2 separate regions of the Homo sapiens genome follow, and region 2 is linked to region 1. Evidence: promoter capture Hi-C in 16 types of primary human blood cells and fetal thymus (Javierre and others, 2016). All regions are on one chromosome and are shown on one strand. The core of a region is centred on a gene start or on the middle of the fragment in contact, and the rest is flanking DNA. Distances in the headings are between cores, read along the strand shown.

Region 1 (7,380 bases), core at 1,414-3,913:
CATGAATGTGTGTGTGAGAGACAGCTGTGTGTGTATCTGAGTGCATGTGCACATCTGTGTGTATTGGGAATGGCAGGATCGGAGTGTGAAGAGGAACGCGGAGAAGGCTGTCTGCACCCACTGGAAGATCCTATCATTTATCTGGATTTGTTCCCTTGGAGTCCCTCTTCTTTTATGGCCCATGGAGTGGTGGTGGGGAGGGGGCGGGGGGAAGGGAGGGAGGATAGGATGAGAGTCACTTCTGTAGCACAGACAGTTGATTGTAAAAGTCACACTCCTTTGTGTAAAGTAATAAAGAGTCCCTAGACATGGTTCCCAGTGTCCCTTCCTGCCCTTCTGAACATGATGAAGCACCATACTTCTTTCCTGCTTTCAGACAGCCAATGGCAGGCTCCAAAGTGGCATTACCCCTGCCTGTGTGCCACTCACTCTGAGGTTCCCCTGTGCCCCACATCTGGGACTGAGGCCCTGACTTCCTGCCACCAGTGCATCGGGATTTAATCTGAGGCTGGGTGGCTATTTGCCTAAATTAATGGTTGCTAAAATTAAAACAGAGGTAAATAGCCCTTTACCTACCACACAGCCTCCCTGGGATTTTAACTGCAGCAAAGAGATCATTGAGGTGCTACCATTTTCTGATCAATCATGGTAATTTTCTTCCCCCTAAGATCAGCTTAATCATGCTAAGGGTCTTAGAGAGCACAGGGGTCAAAAGAAAATTACATGGTTGGGCAGGATTTCTCTGCAGCTCCAGTTTATTTTGTACCTCACTCTGATTTAGTGTTGCACTGCTCAGAAGCAATGCATAGTGCACTTGTTGAAACAGTAATGAACTGTTTGGCCATGTCATGGGGCTCAGCAGAGGTCCACAGAATAAGACAGTCTGTGGTCCAATCCACAGACACCTGACTGCAAAAGCTTCCACAGGGAGCTGAAGTTTAAGATGAAAGAAACGAAGGCTGACAACCTTGCCCTTGACAAACATTTGCCTCCAGCCTGGGATTCAACAATGTTTTAATAACATTTAATAATATTTTAATAGGGCATAAATGGTAAAATGGAGAGAACTCCCAAGCCCTGGGCCTGCTTTCTTGCACGTGTGTGTCACAGCTGCAGAAACACGTGCTTGTACAGGAATAATTGCCACCCCAACTCAGTACCAGCAGGTCTTGGAGCCCGTGATCTATTCACATGCTCAGCAAGTGTTTAATTAATAGTTCTTTCTCTGTTGTTTTCAAATCAATCACCCAGTTTTGAGCACGTCTATTTTCTCCTGCTGTTTGTTCTGTATTGTCACCTGTGGTGCAAAAAGCATATTTTATCAAGAATTGACTTAATTGCCAGTTTAAAACATTAAAGTGCATACTGTAAATCCATTAACAAACTGATCCTTACATGAATCACCAACCTATTTCTTGTGAATAATAACTGAGATAAACAGTGACTAATGACATTGAAAAGCAGCAATGCATTAAAGAAAAATTAACAGCTATGTCAGGGGCTAAGGAATTCCAGTCACCTCATACGTTTGCACCAACCAGATCACTGAAGACAAACGACGGGAAGTCATGACTCAGATGGTGATCTGCAGGGAAAGGTTTAGAGATGAGATGTGTCTGATGCCTCAACACTACCCCTCTCTCCATCTGTCTGTCTCTCTTGGCACCACGATTATGAAACTGCATTCTGAATGCTTAGGCCCTAAACCTAAACCAAGGGAAGGACCTCCAATAGAACACCCAACACACACTAATCTCCACTGTATACTAGACACAACCTTTCTGTATTGTTTCGATTGGATAGGATTTCTACCATTATTCTATTTCGTTTCTGTCCTGTTTTGTTTGTTGTCTGAGAACTTGATTGTCAAGTAAGAAGGAAGGAAGGTGAGATGCAGATTCACCCCTACCTCCACCCTCAGAGCATATTCTCCTTTGGAAATGGACCTTGAAAAGATCATTTCTCTCTGGGGAAGCAGAACATAACCTTAAGGTGTGGGTGTGGCATCCACCTCCATCTGGCGTGGGCCTTGGTGGGAGGAGGGCATTCCAGAGTGGAGAAAGGAGAATGGACCTGGCGGAGAGAAGTGGTCTGGCAGTTTTCTGATGATGCAGTTGTCCCTGCTGTCTGGGCCTGCGCTATCCAACACAGCAGCCACTAGCCACTTGGAGTTATTAAAATTTTATAAAAATTCAATAAAATTTAAATTCCATCAGCACTAGCCTCAGTTCAAATGCTCAGTGGCCAATGTGGCTGATACTGTATCAGACGGCGCAGACTTGGAACATTTCCATCAGGGCAGAAAGTTCTACAGGACAGCTTCTTCCTAGGGTCTAGGCAGCCCCGGAGCCTCACCTGGGGGATAAGCAAAATCACAGAGTGAGAATGCGTGTGGTCCAGGACCCCTCCCAGTCCCAGATACCGAACGACATCTGAGCAAGGGACTCTGTTGCCCCGGGGACGGTTTCAAAAGCTGGAGGCCGGGACTCCAAAGGGCTGGAGAGGCGTGATAATAGAACCAGTGCTTCAACAGCAACTTCTCTTTTGCAATCCTTGCTGGTCTGACAGGCTCCTGCAGAATTACATCACTTCCTAAAAAACAGGCACACACCTCTCCTTCAAGTCAGCACCGACCCAAACAAGCAGGAAACAGGAAATGTTCACGTTTCAGAGAGGCTGCAGCCCGGCGCAGCATCCTGAGCGCGCCTCTGCCGAGGCGAGCGGACATGCAGGCTCCCCGCGCAGCCCTAGTCTTCGCCCTGGTGATCGCGCTCGTTCCCGTCGGCCGGGGTAAGCCGCCTCCACTTCCTACTCCTGGGAAGGAGGATCGCAAAAGCTGGTAGGGTGCCCGAGGCTACAGAACTCTGCCGGGGAGGGTGACACCCAGAAAATCTAATCCTTTCTGTGAAAGAAGTGGAGAAAATTAGAACTCCTTTTTTTGGGGGGTGGGATGGAGAGGGGACTTCGCTTTCGCTGCAGCTGTCTAAACTGGCTACAGCTCTCACTTCATTTAACCCTCTTTCAGTCTTTGTCTTCCAGGAAGTGTGCGTCCCTGTAATTTACCAGCTTTAATGGGCATATTAAGAAAACCATAAACTTTTTGGCAGTTTATGTAAAAAAAAACAAAAGCTTCAATTGGCTGAAACAGAGACATGATTAATTTGCTTTTTATGGTGTGGGCTGAGAAGTCTGCTGATTCCAAAATCTCCTGGAAAAACTGGGGTGTGAAAATTTACTACTAGAAAGCATACTAAAGAAACGACATAAACTTAAAAAAAAAAAAAGGAAACGGGAAATTATCCGAAGAGCTACCAAAGAGCTATGTGTTAGAGGGTAGCCCTCTAACACATCAAGTAAGGTCTTTCATCTACTTTTATTGCACCTTGTTACTTTTACAGATTTTTTTTTTGCATTGATTGTTACTAATGAAGATTTGTTTGAAAAAGTAATATGATTGGAACCAATCAAAGGTATTGGAAAAAACAATATTGAATCTCATTATTATGGGCTAAAAGCAACAACTGATTTACACCCTTGCCAGTTGCTACAACAAGCACAAGCACCTTCAGCTGCCTCTCTTGTTGACTTGCCTTTGGGCAAATACACTGGCTGCCCATTGTTTCTGTCAATGAACACCGACTGCTTCTAGTGTAGGGCAGTATTTACCAAGCAAAAGGAAAGTTCTCAAGCTACAGTTCTTTAGATAGAATGAGGGACATCAGCCCCAACCTAACAGATGTGACAACTTCCTGGAGGTCAGCAGCCAGCACCCAGCCACCCCACTCCATCAATTTCTCTTCCCCTGGGTGTTCTCCATGTGGTCCCCCAGGCATCTGAGGTAGAAAACAAAGTGGAAGGCAAATCATTCCAGCTGAAAAGATGTCTGGTTAAATTGAGTTTAGTGTTCAGAGTGGGTTTGGAAGTTGATGTGTTGTTTTATGCCCAGTGTTTTGGAGCTGGAAGGGAACTTGAAGATGATGCAGCTCAAACCATATTGGGCACACAGGTGAAGAAACAGAGGTGGAAGAAGGGAGATGTCTGGGTCTTGCTGCTAGTCAGCTCTTCTGGCTTCTACTCCAGAGTTCTTTGAGCTCCTCCACCCCCCACCACCACTGCCCCCCTCCCCCCACCGCCGCCCCGGAACCAATCACTGTCTCTGCCAAGAGCTCTGGAACCTTTCGTAGTAGGACATCAGGGAAGAAAAGCCTAGCCATCCTCCTTCCACCTCTTCTATTGCACAACACTGCCACAGGTGCCTCAAACACTCCCTTAATACTAATTCATCTTGCCTGAACTTTTTTTTTAGCTTCTAAAAAATGATTGAGTCCTAGTGTCTGCAATTCAGGAGATGCAAAAAGAGAATCTGAAGAGACTTGGTTAAAGTTGCCTTTCTGACACCTGAATCTGATCGTGCACATCTTCCCCCTTAAGGACCCCTCATTTATGCCCCTTCACTTGTTCCTCATTTTTGCCCCTTAGACTCTCACTGCAACCTCCTTCCCAGTGGCACCTCCTTCCAGTTGTCGTCCCCCTCCGTGGCTCTTGCCTATAATGAATACATTCTTTTTCCTACCTAGCAAATTCTTGTATCACCTTAAAAGTATCAAACTAAATGTGATCTCCTCCTTGATGTCTCCTTTCTCTGCCCCTTCCCTGGAGCTCTACTCGTACCTGCTGCTGTGCCCCGATAGACCTAAACTTCTGCTAATCACTTTGAACCATAATTGTGTCCATGCCTCCCAACTGGCTGTGAACAGCTCCAGGGAAAATCCTCTGTAGTTCACCTTTGACTTTCCAAAATCCTGTAAGGGCTCAGCATAAATGAGAAAATAATTGTTGATAAATATGAAAATCATCCCTAGAATGGATATGAGGCTGATTACAAAAAAAACTGATAGCTCCTGAAAACAGGTAGTGTTGGAATGTAAAGAGAAGTCAAAGATGAAAAGTTGCATTTCAGTAGAGTGCAGGGATTACCTAAATAATCCAACATGCTAATTGGGCCCTGCTGGGATTCCCAATGTCTGAAAAATGCCCACTTGCAAAAAGCTGTTGAATAAAAGCTATGACTTTGAGATGATTCATCATGGAAAAGGTGATTTTAAATTAAAGATTTTTAAAATTAATTAATGTACACTACTTTTAGCTAATAGTGCCTAAGGCTTCAGGATATGAGTTACTTTCTAGGTGTCACAGGTATATTTCCTTGAATTCTTCAAAAAATACCTGGGGATGTTTGTTAGATGAATCCAACCTACTGAAGGGCCTGACACTGTTTGTGAGTATACTCTGAGATGTATCTCAAATTAAGCCTTTATTAACAACGAGCAGGCAACATGAGATAATATCTGCAGTTGCATGAGACCAGCACTGTTACCTCTGAGTCAGCGACCTCTTCTCTTTTTAGAGATAGATAGCCTGACATAGAATTGAGTTCTACCCCAAGAGAAATAATTCACTTGGAAGTCACCAGGAGAGAAATAAGAAAGCAGCTTTTCTGGGACTATAATGGAATGGGTGAGCATAGTTAAAGGAAAGCTTGGGCCTAGGTGCCTTGGCCAGTGTAGGATCCTAAGAAAGTTCAAACTCAAGGAGATGTTCTGCTCATGGAGTAAAGTGGGGCAGGGGTGTCCCCGTCTCTGTTCTTTATGCCCTGTCAGTGTCAGCTTAATACTATCAGAAAACCAAAAGCAATTTCCTAAATACCAAAAGCATGGGATTTGTTAGTTGCTAAAAGCAGAATTGTTGCAGAAGGGAGAGCTGAAGGCCATGAGGCAGAAACAAGGATGCTGTGACTGTTTTGGTGGCCAAACAGAGAGGAATGGGAGATTTTCTGGGCTGGTTCAGAAGAATAAGAATTATATAAGTATTGGATGAATCTTGACAAGGAGAGAAAGAATAGTAGAAAATACTAGCTATGTAAGTAAGGCTACACATTCTGACACTGTGGTATCTCATATCTTATTTTAATGAACACGGCTGACATCTGCTGTTTCCTGGGACAGTCCCAATTTCAAGTATTAATAACAATAGTAGCTAACATATATAGAACTCATTATAGGTCAGGCACTATTCTAAATGCTACATTCACTAACTCATTTAATTCTCAGAACAACCTTATAAGGTGGGCACTATTATCCCTGTTTTTACATTTGAGAAAACTGAGGCACAGAGAGGCTAAGTGACTTGCCCAAGGTCACACAGCTAATTAGTGAATCTAAGTAAGATTCTGCCTCAGGAGTCCATTCTCTAACCATACTCCATACTACCTCTGGGTTTCCAAGCTCTGCCAGGCTACTCGTTTAGTTTTGGGTTTAGAAAACTGTGGTTGTTGAACCTTTCCAGCTGTAGGTGCAGCACAGAACTCTTGGCTAGGCTTTGCGGTGGCTGCATGTCAATTATAGAGCTGCATTTGTTTGCACTGGGTCAGAGACTGGCTGAGAGGAAGAGGAATGATGAGAGTTGGGTTAAAACTCAGACTGCTGAGGAGGAAGGGAGGGGCTGAAAGAGGTGCAGAGTGAGCACAAGAGAATCTGGGGATTTAAGACTAGAAGCAGGAAAAACAGAATGTTGAAGTCACTGGGTAAGAGGCTTCAGGGTGTGGGAACCAGCGAGGAGAAGAACAGCCTTATGTCAGGCAGTCACTGTGGGAGAGCCCTACTGAGAACTGGCCATTACGACCAAATACTCTAAGGGACTCCCCCAAAAAACAGACAGAGAGGATGAGCTTTAAAGTCCTTCTGTGTCTGAAATTTGGAATCCCAGGAAACCATAAGAGGGAAGATATTGACTGGGATGGGCTCAATTCTGTAATGAAGCAATGCAAACTGCAGCTTGCCTATTCGTATGTAGTTTGTACCACTCTCAAATGTTGGCAAAGATATGGAGAGACAGGAACTCTGCACTACTGGTCCGAGGGTAGATTAGTGCAATCACCTTGTCTATCTTGACGGTCAAGCCATCCATTGGGCTTTTAATTTTAGTCATCATTATTTGGCATTTCTAGAAAATTTGTTTTTTTTTTTTCTTTTTGAGACAGAGTTTCACTCTCGTTGCCCAGGCTGGAGTGCAATGGCACGATCTTGGCTCACCGCAACCTCTGCCTTGTGGGTTCAAGCGATTCTCCTGCCTCAGCCTCCCGAGTAGCTGGGATTACAGGCATGTGCCAGCACACCCGGCTAATTTTGTATTTTTAGTAGAGATGGGGTTTCTCCATGTTGGTCAGGCTGGTCTCAAACTCGCGACCGCAGGAGATCCACCCTCCTCGGCCTCCCAAAGTGCTAAGATTACAGGCATGAGCCACCTCACCTGGCCTATGTGTTCTTTTTTTATACACATTGTGCTTTGGGTTTTTTTCCCTTGTGTTATTTATTCCTTCTT
Region 2 (7,380 bases), core at 1,909-4,408, 1.6 Mb after region 1:
AAAAATTCACAGTTTTATGTCATTTCACTCTCATGTTCTATGTTGTGCTTGCCACTTATTACCTACTCAACTGACAGGAAGCAAAAAGGTAACATATGGGCTCTCGTAGATACTTTCTTTTTTTTTTTTTTTTTTTTGAGATGGAGTCTCCCTCTATCGCCCAGGCTGGAGTGCGGAGGCACGATCTTGGCTCACTGCAAGCTCCACCTCCAGGGTTCACGCCATTCTCCTGCCGCAGCCTCCTGAGTAGCTGGGACTACAAGCGCCCACCACCACGCCCGGCTAATTTTTTGTATTTTTAGTAGAGACGGGACTTCATCGTGTTAGCCAGGATGGTCTCGATCTTTTGACCTCGTGATCCACCCACCTCGGCCTCCCAAAGTGCTGGGATTACAGGCGTGAGCCACCGAGCCCGGCCTCATAGGTACTTTCTTATTCTGTATATTGATTGAATTCAAGGCAAGACTGAGCATGTTTAAGGAGAAACATAATTTTTATACTCAGTGAATTTTATGGGAGAGAAATAGGAACACATTCTGTTTCCTTTCAGGAATTTTAGGTTAAAATCTGATCTTGTTCATCTAAACCTCCTCAAACTAGAATCTCTTAATCCTTTTTCTTTGATAAATTAAACCTAGAGGGCTGGGCGCGGTGGCTCACGACTGTAATCCCAGCACTTTGGGAGGCCGAGGCAGGCGGATCACGAGGTCAGGAGATCGAGACCATCCTGGCTGACACGGTGAAACCCTGTCTCTACTAAAAATACAAAAAATTAGCCGGGCGTGGTGGCGGGCACCTGTAGTCCCAGCTACTCGGGAGGCTGAGGCAGGAGAATGGTGTGAAGCCAGGAGGCGGAGCTTGCAGTGAACCGAGATCGCGCCACTGCACTCCAGCCTAAGCGACAGAGTGAGACTCCGTCTCAAAAACAAAAAAAAACCTAGAGAAGCCTTTCCAAGCAAGGCGACTCAGTTGAAAAAAAACCTAGAGAAGCCATTTAATATATTATTCTTATCCTTTGAACACTAAAAGCGTTTTTCTTTAAAAGATGCCCTTGTTTACATGGCTAGAAGGGTAATGGAATATATCTGTCATTGTGCTCATATAAATCACAGGTCTTGAATTCAGTCTGTAATATTCAAAATGAAAGAAAGTGCGTTTATCAGAATTTATTAGTAGAACTTGCATTTGAAAAAAAAATTTTTCTATAAGATTGTAGATCAATACTCCTAACATTCATTTCTTAGTTTTTACTCAGTTTCTTAAGCTTACCTAAATATACCTAGAGAAAATAATGATGACTGTATGGACTAATAATTATAAGGCGATATATTCACTTTGGTATAATCATTAATGGTTTATTTCTTTTAATTAATGTCAAATGCACATGAGCCATATGATTCATGATTCAATGTCATTTTGAATGCCATTGAATGAATTCTTCACAGTGAATTTATTATTTTATTTTATTGTATTGTATTTTAGAGACAGGGTCTCACTTTGTTGCCCAGGTTGGAGTGCAATGGCATGATCTTGGCTCACTGCAGCCTTAGACTCTTGGCCTCAAGTGTTCCTCCCACCTCAGCCTCCCGAGTAACTGGGACTACAGGCATGTGCCACCATATTTGGCTAATTTATTATTTTTTTCATTTTATTTTTTGAGGTGGAGTCTTGCTCTGTTGCCCAGGCTGGAGTGCAATGGCACAATCTGGGCTCACTGCAGCCTCTGCCTCTCAGGTTCAAGTGATTCCCCTGCCTCAGCCTCCTGAGTAGCTAGGATTACGGGCACGCACCACTGTGCCCCGCTAATTTTTTTGTATTTTTAGTAGGGACCAGGTTTCATCATGTTGGCCAGACAGGTCTTGAACTCCTGACCTCAAGTGATCCATCCGCCTCGGCCTCTGAAAGTGCTGGGATTACAGGCGTGAGCCCCGGCATCCAGCCTAATTTTTTATTTTTTGTAAAGACGGGGTTTCACCATGTTACCCAGGCTGGTGTTGAACTCCTGAGCTCAAGCAGTCTTCTCGCCTCGGCCTCTCAAAGTGCTGGGTTTGCAGGCGTGAGCCACCTTGTCCAGCCAACTGAATTTTTTTCAGAACTAACGTGAAGTCATTTTCTAACTTGTGCCTTTTTACTTCACTGTAATTAAAGAAGGAAAAAAAATAGAAAGCCTGACTCAGAACAACACTACCATCTAGGGGCCGCTCTCTTAATTGCGAGCTCATCCTGTTATACCACAGAAGAGAGCCCTTGGAGACCAGAGTTCAACTTGCAGAGGTTAAATGATTTGCCTAAAGTCACAGTTACTTGCAGAGCCTAAAGTAAAACCTATCTCTGCGGATTTCCAATCCAGTTCTTTTTCCGTTTATTATGGCAAAGTGATAACATTTTTTTTAGCAGTTAAACAAGAAGAATTGATCCGTTTCATTGGCCTGTAGTGGTTGTAGCCTCTAATACTTAACGATTAGAAAGAATTACACAGTATGTATTAAAGCCTTGAAGTTTTATCCTTCAGGAAGAAAAGTCCTGTCAGCTTCTTGGTTTTATGTGGACAATTTATATTGATGTTACCTAGAAACTGAAACATGAATGGATCCACTAATGTGGATTCCTTTTTCTCTTTAATAGAAAATATTCAAAAATTTAGAACATCAGATCTTGTACAGCTGTATCTTGTAGGGCTGTGCCCTTGGCAACAGTAGAGCAATCATAAATCTAGATTTTCATTAAAATATAACACAAAACACTGTTATTAGTATTTTGGAGTATAATAGATTAACCAAAGCACTGTTAAGCTGATAGATTTATATTTCAGAGTCTGAGACATATTCTGATTTTTTTAAAGGAATTCTAATTATATGTATACCATGGATTATTTATCTTCAAGTACTGTAAATTAGGCAATAATTAAATGAAATATTTGGTTGTCTATGTTTCACAAAAATTAACTAACAATACCAAAATATTGGCCTCTGGCTGAGCACTATGACTCACGCCTGTAATCTCAGCACTTTGGGAGGCCAAGGCGGGTGGATAACCTGAGGTCAGGAGTTCAAAACCAGCCTGGCCAACATGGTGAAACCCTGTCTCTACTAAAAATACAAAAATTAGCCAGGCTATGGTGGCGTGGGCCTGTAATCCCAGCTACTGGGTGAGGCAGGAGAATTGCGCAAACCTGGGAAATGGAGGTTGCAGTGAGCTGAGATTATGCCACTGCACTGCAGTCTGGGCAACAGAGAGTGACACCATCTCAAAAAAAAAATGTGTGTGTGTGTATATATACATATATGTATATATGTGTATGTGTATATGTATGTGTGTATACATGTATGTGTGTATGAATGTATACGCATATGTATATGTGTGTACACGTGTGTATATATACATATGTATGTGTATGCATAGTATATACATACATGTGTATATATACATATGTATGTATATGCATAGTGTATACATACATATGTATGTATATGCAGTGTATACATACATATGTATACATACGTATGTGTATATGTATATATACGTATACATGTATACATGCATGCATTTATACATATGTATGCACATATATACATATACACATATGTGTATACACATACACACACTTTAAATATATACATACATATACACATACGTATGTATGCGTGTATGTATATACATATACACATACATATATACATATACGTATACACAAATGTATATGTGGTAATATACACATATATACTTACATATACATGCACATATACACATATATATACATACACATATATACGTGTATATACATATATGTATCAAAAAAATAATAATAGGGCCGGGATGGATGTTATACACTTCTAGGAGCTGACACCTGCAATAATTTTTCTGCCTTGACTTCTTTTTTTTTTTTTTTTTCTGAGACGTAGTTTTGCCCTTGCTGCCCAGGCTGGAGTCCAATGGTGCGATCTTGGCTCACTGCAACCTCTGCCCCCAGGTTCCAGCAATTCTCGTGCCTCAGCCTCCGAAGTAGCTAGGATTAGAGGTGCCCGCCACCACGCTTTGCTAGTTTTTTGTATCTGTATTTTTATTTTTGAGATGGAGTTTCGCTCGTCAACCCAGGCTGGAGTGCAATGGTGTGATTTTGGCTCACCGCAACCTCTGCCTCCTGGGTTGAAGCAATTCTCCTGCCTCAGCCTCCCAAGTAGCTGGGATTACAGGTGCCCACCACCATGCCCAGCTAATTTTTATATTTTTAGTAAAGACAGGATTTCACCATGTTGGTCAGGCTGGTCTCAAACTCATGACCTCAGGTGATCCACCCGCCTTGGCCTCCCAAAGTGCTGGGATTATAGGCATGAGCCACCGTGCCCAGCCAATTTTTTGTATTTTTAGTAGACATGGAGTTTCGCCACTTTGGCCAGGCTGGTCTTGAACTCCTGTCCTCAGGTGATCCACCCGCCTCACCCTCCCAAAGTACTGGGATTACAGGTGTGAGCCACCGCACCCAGCCCTACTTTGACTTCTTAAATGATCTTAGCAAATGGAAACTCATTACCCTTCATAGCTGTCACACTTGCATTGCCTATCACAGCGTTACGTCAGAGAATTAATGACTCATTAAATTGGTATGACTGGATATTTAAAGATACTAAAGATTATTACTGAAATTTGGAGCTGTGTTAATAGGATTTTGGTTACATTTCTTTTTAAGAAATCATTTCAGAGATACATGATGAAATATTTACATTTGATAAGTTAAATTTGCTTCAAATAATTGAGGAGGAGAAATTGTCAGGAACTGTGCAGTGTTTGACATTTTACCCAACTTGTAAGCTAAACATTTAGCCTGGCATGGTTTCATGGATGTTAGCAGAAGACATGAGACTTCTGGGACAGGAGCAAAACACTTCATGATAGCAAAAGTGAGAACCAGAGTTTCGTGTTCTTATGTGTCAGTTTCCCATACCCCACCAAATCCCGAGGAGGTGATGCAAAGGGCCCATTATACAGTGAGTTGTGTGACAGGAGAGGAACACTGAGATCCACCACTTTTATAGCAAATGGAAGCAAGCTTGCTTTTTTTCCTGGGGGAGACGTTACCTCATCCTTCAAGGTTGCTCACAAGGGTGCAAACACAGCCCTGAGAAGTGGCCAGGGTAAAGAACAGTCAAGGGATTGTATTCTTGGCATACTCAGCAAGAATGTGCAGAGACACTTAGGGTATACAGCACATTGCCTCTGTCACTATTCACTCCTCAGCCTGACACATTCTTGGCCAAACTTAAATTTTTACACAAGTGTGCTACTCTGACAACCACTTCGATTAAGCTAACCAACAGAAGCCAGAACCAAATCCACTCAGTTTGTCTCACATGACGTTTAATTAAGTCTATTATCAAGACTCAAAGCAGCAGATGAAGCCAACCTGCAGTATTGATCTCAGTCTTACTCTCCAGGGTCCCAGACAGCTTACTGTGAATAATCTCAGGGAGTACCAGTAGGTCTGATTTTAGGCAGCCATGAGGTATTCTAGGGCCAGGGTATTTTATTCATTAAGACCTGTACAGAGTTTAAACTGATCTGTTAATCTCTGGTGTCGCTGCAATAATTAGACAATTGATGGGCCAGAAAGCGACCTCTGTCCTTAATGGGGAGACATCTCATGACCCATTTTTCTCCTACCCATTTTTCCCCTATATACCAAAATATAACCCCAAAGGACACAAGTCACTTTGGTTCAGGACTCGTTGCTAAACCTGATTTGTATCATCACATTGGTTAAGTCACAGGGGCAGTGTCACCAAATAGCTGCAGCTTCGGTTGCCATATACGGTATTACCCAAGACCACTCAGGCGTCAAAAGCATATGATCAGTCAGATTGAATCAAGGTTGTGTTGGTCCTGATGTCTGTATACATTCGAATTTGGGTGCTGTTGTTGATGGTATCAGGCACAGCAGAACAGTGCAGGACTGACCATGTTTATGAGAGATTTTCGTTTTCATAGCACATTTCATGGTGGTCTGGACAAGCCCAGCAGCAGGTCAGACTGTTAGCTGCAGCTGCCACTTGATTCAGGTAGTGGTTTTGAATCAAGGGCAGTGGTTCCAGCTGGGGGCAGTTTTGCCCTCCAGGGGACATTTGGCAATGTCTGAGCCATTTTTATTTGTCACAACTAGAGGGAAGGTGCTACTGGCATCTAGTGGGTAGAGGCCAGTGTAACTGCTAAACAACGAATTATCTGGCCTAAAATATTAATAGTGCCAAGGTTGAGAAACTGACCTAGGGAACAAATTGTGCATTAATTATTTCCCTTCCAGCTAGGCATGGTGGTTCACACCTGTAATCCCAGCACTCTGGGAGGCTGAGGCAGAAGGATCGCTTGAGCCAGGAGTTTTAAGACCAGCCTGGGTCTTAATATGACACATTAGTTTCAAGAGCTGTAATTGTATGGTCAAAGTCAGTTGGTCAGACCGAAACAGCAACGTCATAGCCTAAGAAGGTCTTAACAGCAGTCAGCCCCTCCGCCATGAGTTGCCCTAACAGGAGGTCAAATGGCCAGTGTAGTCAGTCAGTTAGGAGCAAGCGGGCCCATGTCCTGTATAGTATGGCCTTATTTACCTCCAGACAAATGGGATAACTTTAGCAGGGGTCACCAAGACTGGCATGCATGAGAAAGAGTTCTTTACTGGGTGCCTAGTCCGCCATGGTGGATGTGTTGCCATTGTGAGGACAATCCAGGTGATGCTGGCTTCATCAGCAGCTTGATTCCACTAGGTGTTATCAGTCACAGGTGTTATCAGCCCTTAACTGTAGTCATCTACATGAATGACCCAGATGTTCTGGTTGGCAGCCACAATTTATTTTCATAGTTTATAGCCTTAAAAGAGATGTCTTTAGTCTGCCTTTCAACTGGCAGACCAGATGTCTAGGCCATTAGTAACAGCCCAAGTCAGCAAAAACTAGTGTGGTGGCTCACACCTGTAATCTCAACTTTGGGAGGCTGAGGCAGGAGAATCACTTGAGTACAAGAGTTCAAGACCAGCCTGGGCAACATAGCGAGATGCCCATCTCTACAAAAATTTTAAAAAGCAGGTCATGGGGACACACACCTGTAGCCCCAGCTACTCAGGAGATTGAGGTAGGAGGATCCCTGAGTCCAGGAGGTTGAGACTGCAGTGAGCTGTGATCACACCACTGCACTCCAACCTGGGCAACAGCACAAGACCCTAACTCTAAAAATAATAATTTTTAAAATAGGGCAAGGTTAATCAAAAGCAGTATTGGCTATGAGAACTGAGTTCCGCCCACTGAGCAGGGACTTCATTCACTTTAGTTGCATGGCTAGCACTGAGGTTGGATTGCAACAGCAACACAATGGATACTACCAGCTTTCCATTCTGCA

The links. Contacts are between HindIII fragments. The CHiCAGO score rates a contact against its expected background, and 5 or more counts as called.
Region 2: a contact is called between a fragment that was not itself captured here and the fragment with the promoter of TMEM154 in region 1, in 1 of 17 cell types (total CD8 T cells). The highest score is 8.4, in total CD8 T cells.

What each region holds. Positions count from the first base shown.
Region 1 is chr4:152,675,280-152,682,659 of GRCh38, reverse strand. TMEM154 (transmembrane protein 154) reads left to right here and starts at 2,663. Exons shown (of 7, transcript NM_152680.3): 1 at 2,663-2,790. The coding sequence starts at 2,727. LOC105377495 (a long non-coding RNA gene) reads right to left here and starts at 2,575. Exons shown (of 4, transcript XR_939359.3): 1 at 2,356-2,575; 2 at 1,987-2,073; 3 at 1,520-1,585; 4 at 998-1,297. RefSeq lists enhancers at 2,580-2,889, 2,200-3,029, 6,097-6,186. The HindIII fragment of the contact is 2,211 bases long and covers 921-3,131 here.
Region 2 is chr4:151,112,369-151,119,748 of GRCh38, reverse strand. No RefSeq gene overlaps it. Among named protein-coding and RNA genes, the nearest start is that of SH3D19-AS1, 8.2 kb to the left of the region's middle. The HindIII fragment of the contact is 3,783 bases long and covers 1,267-5,049 here.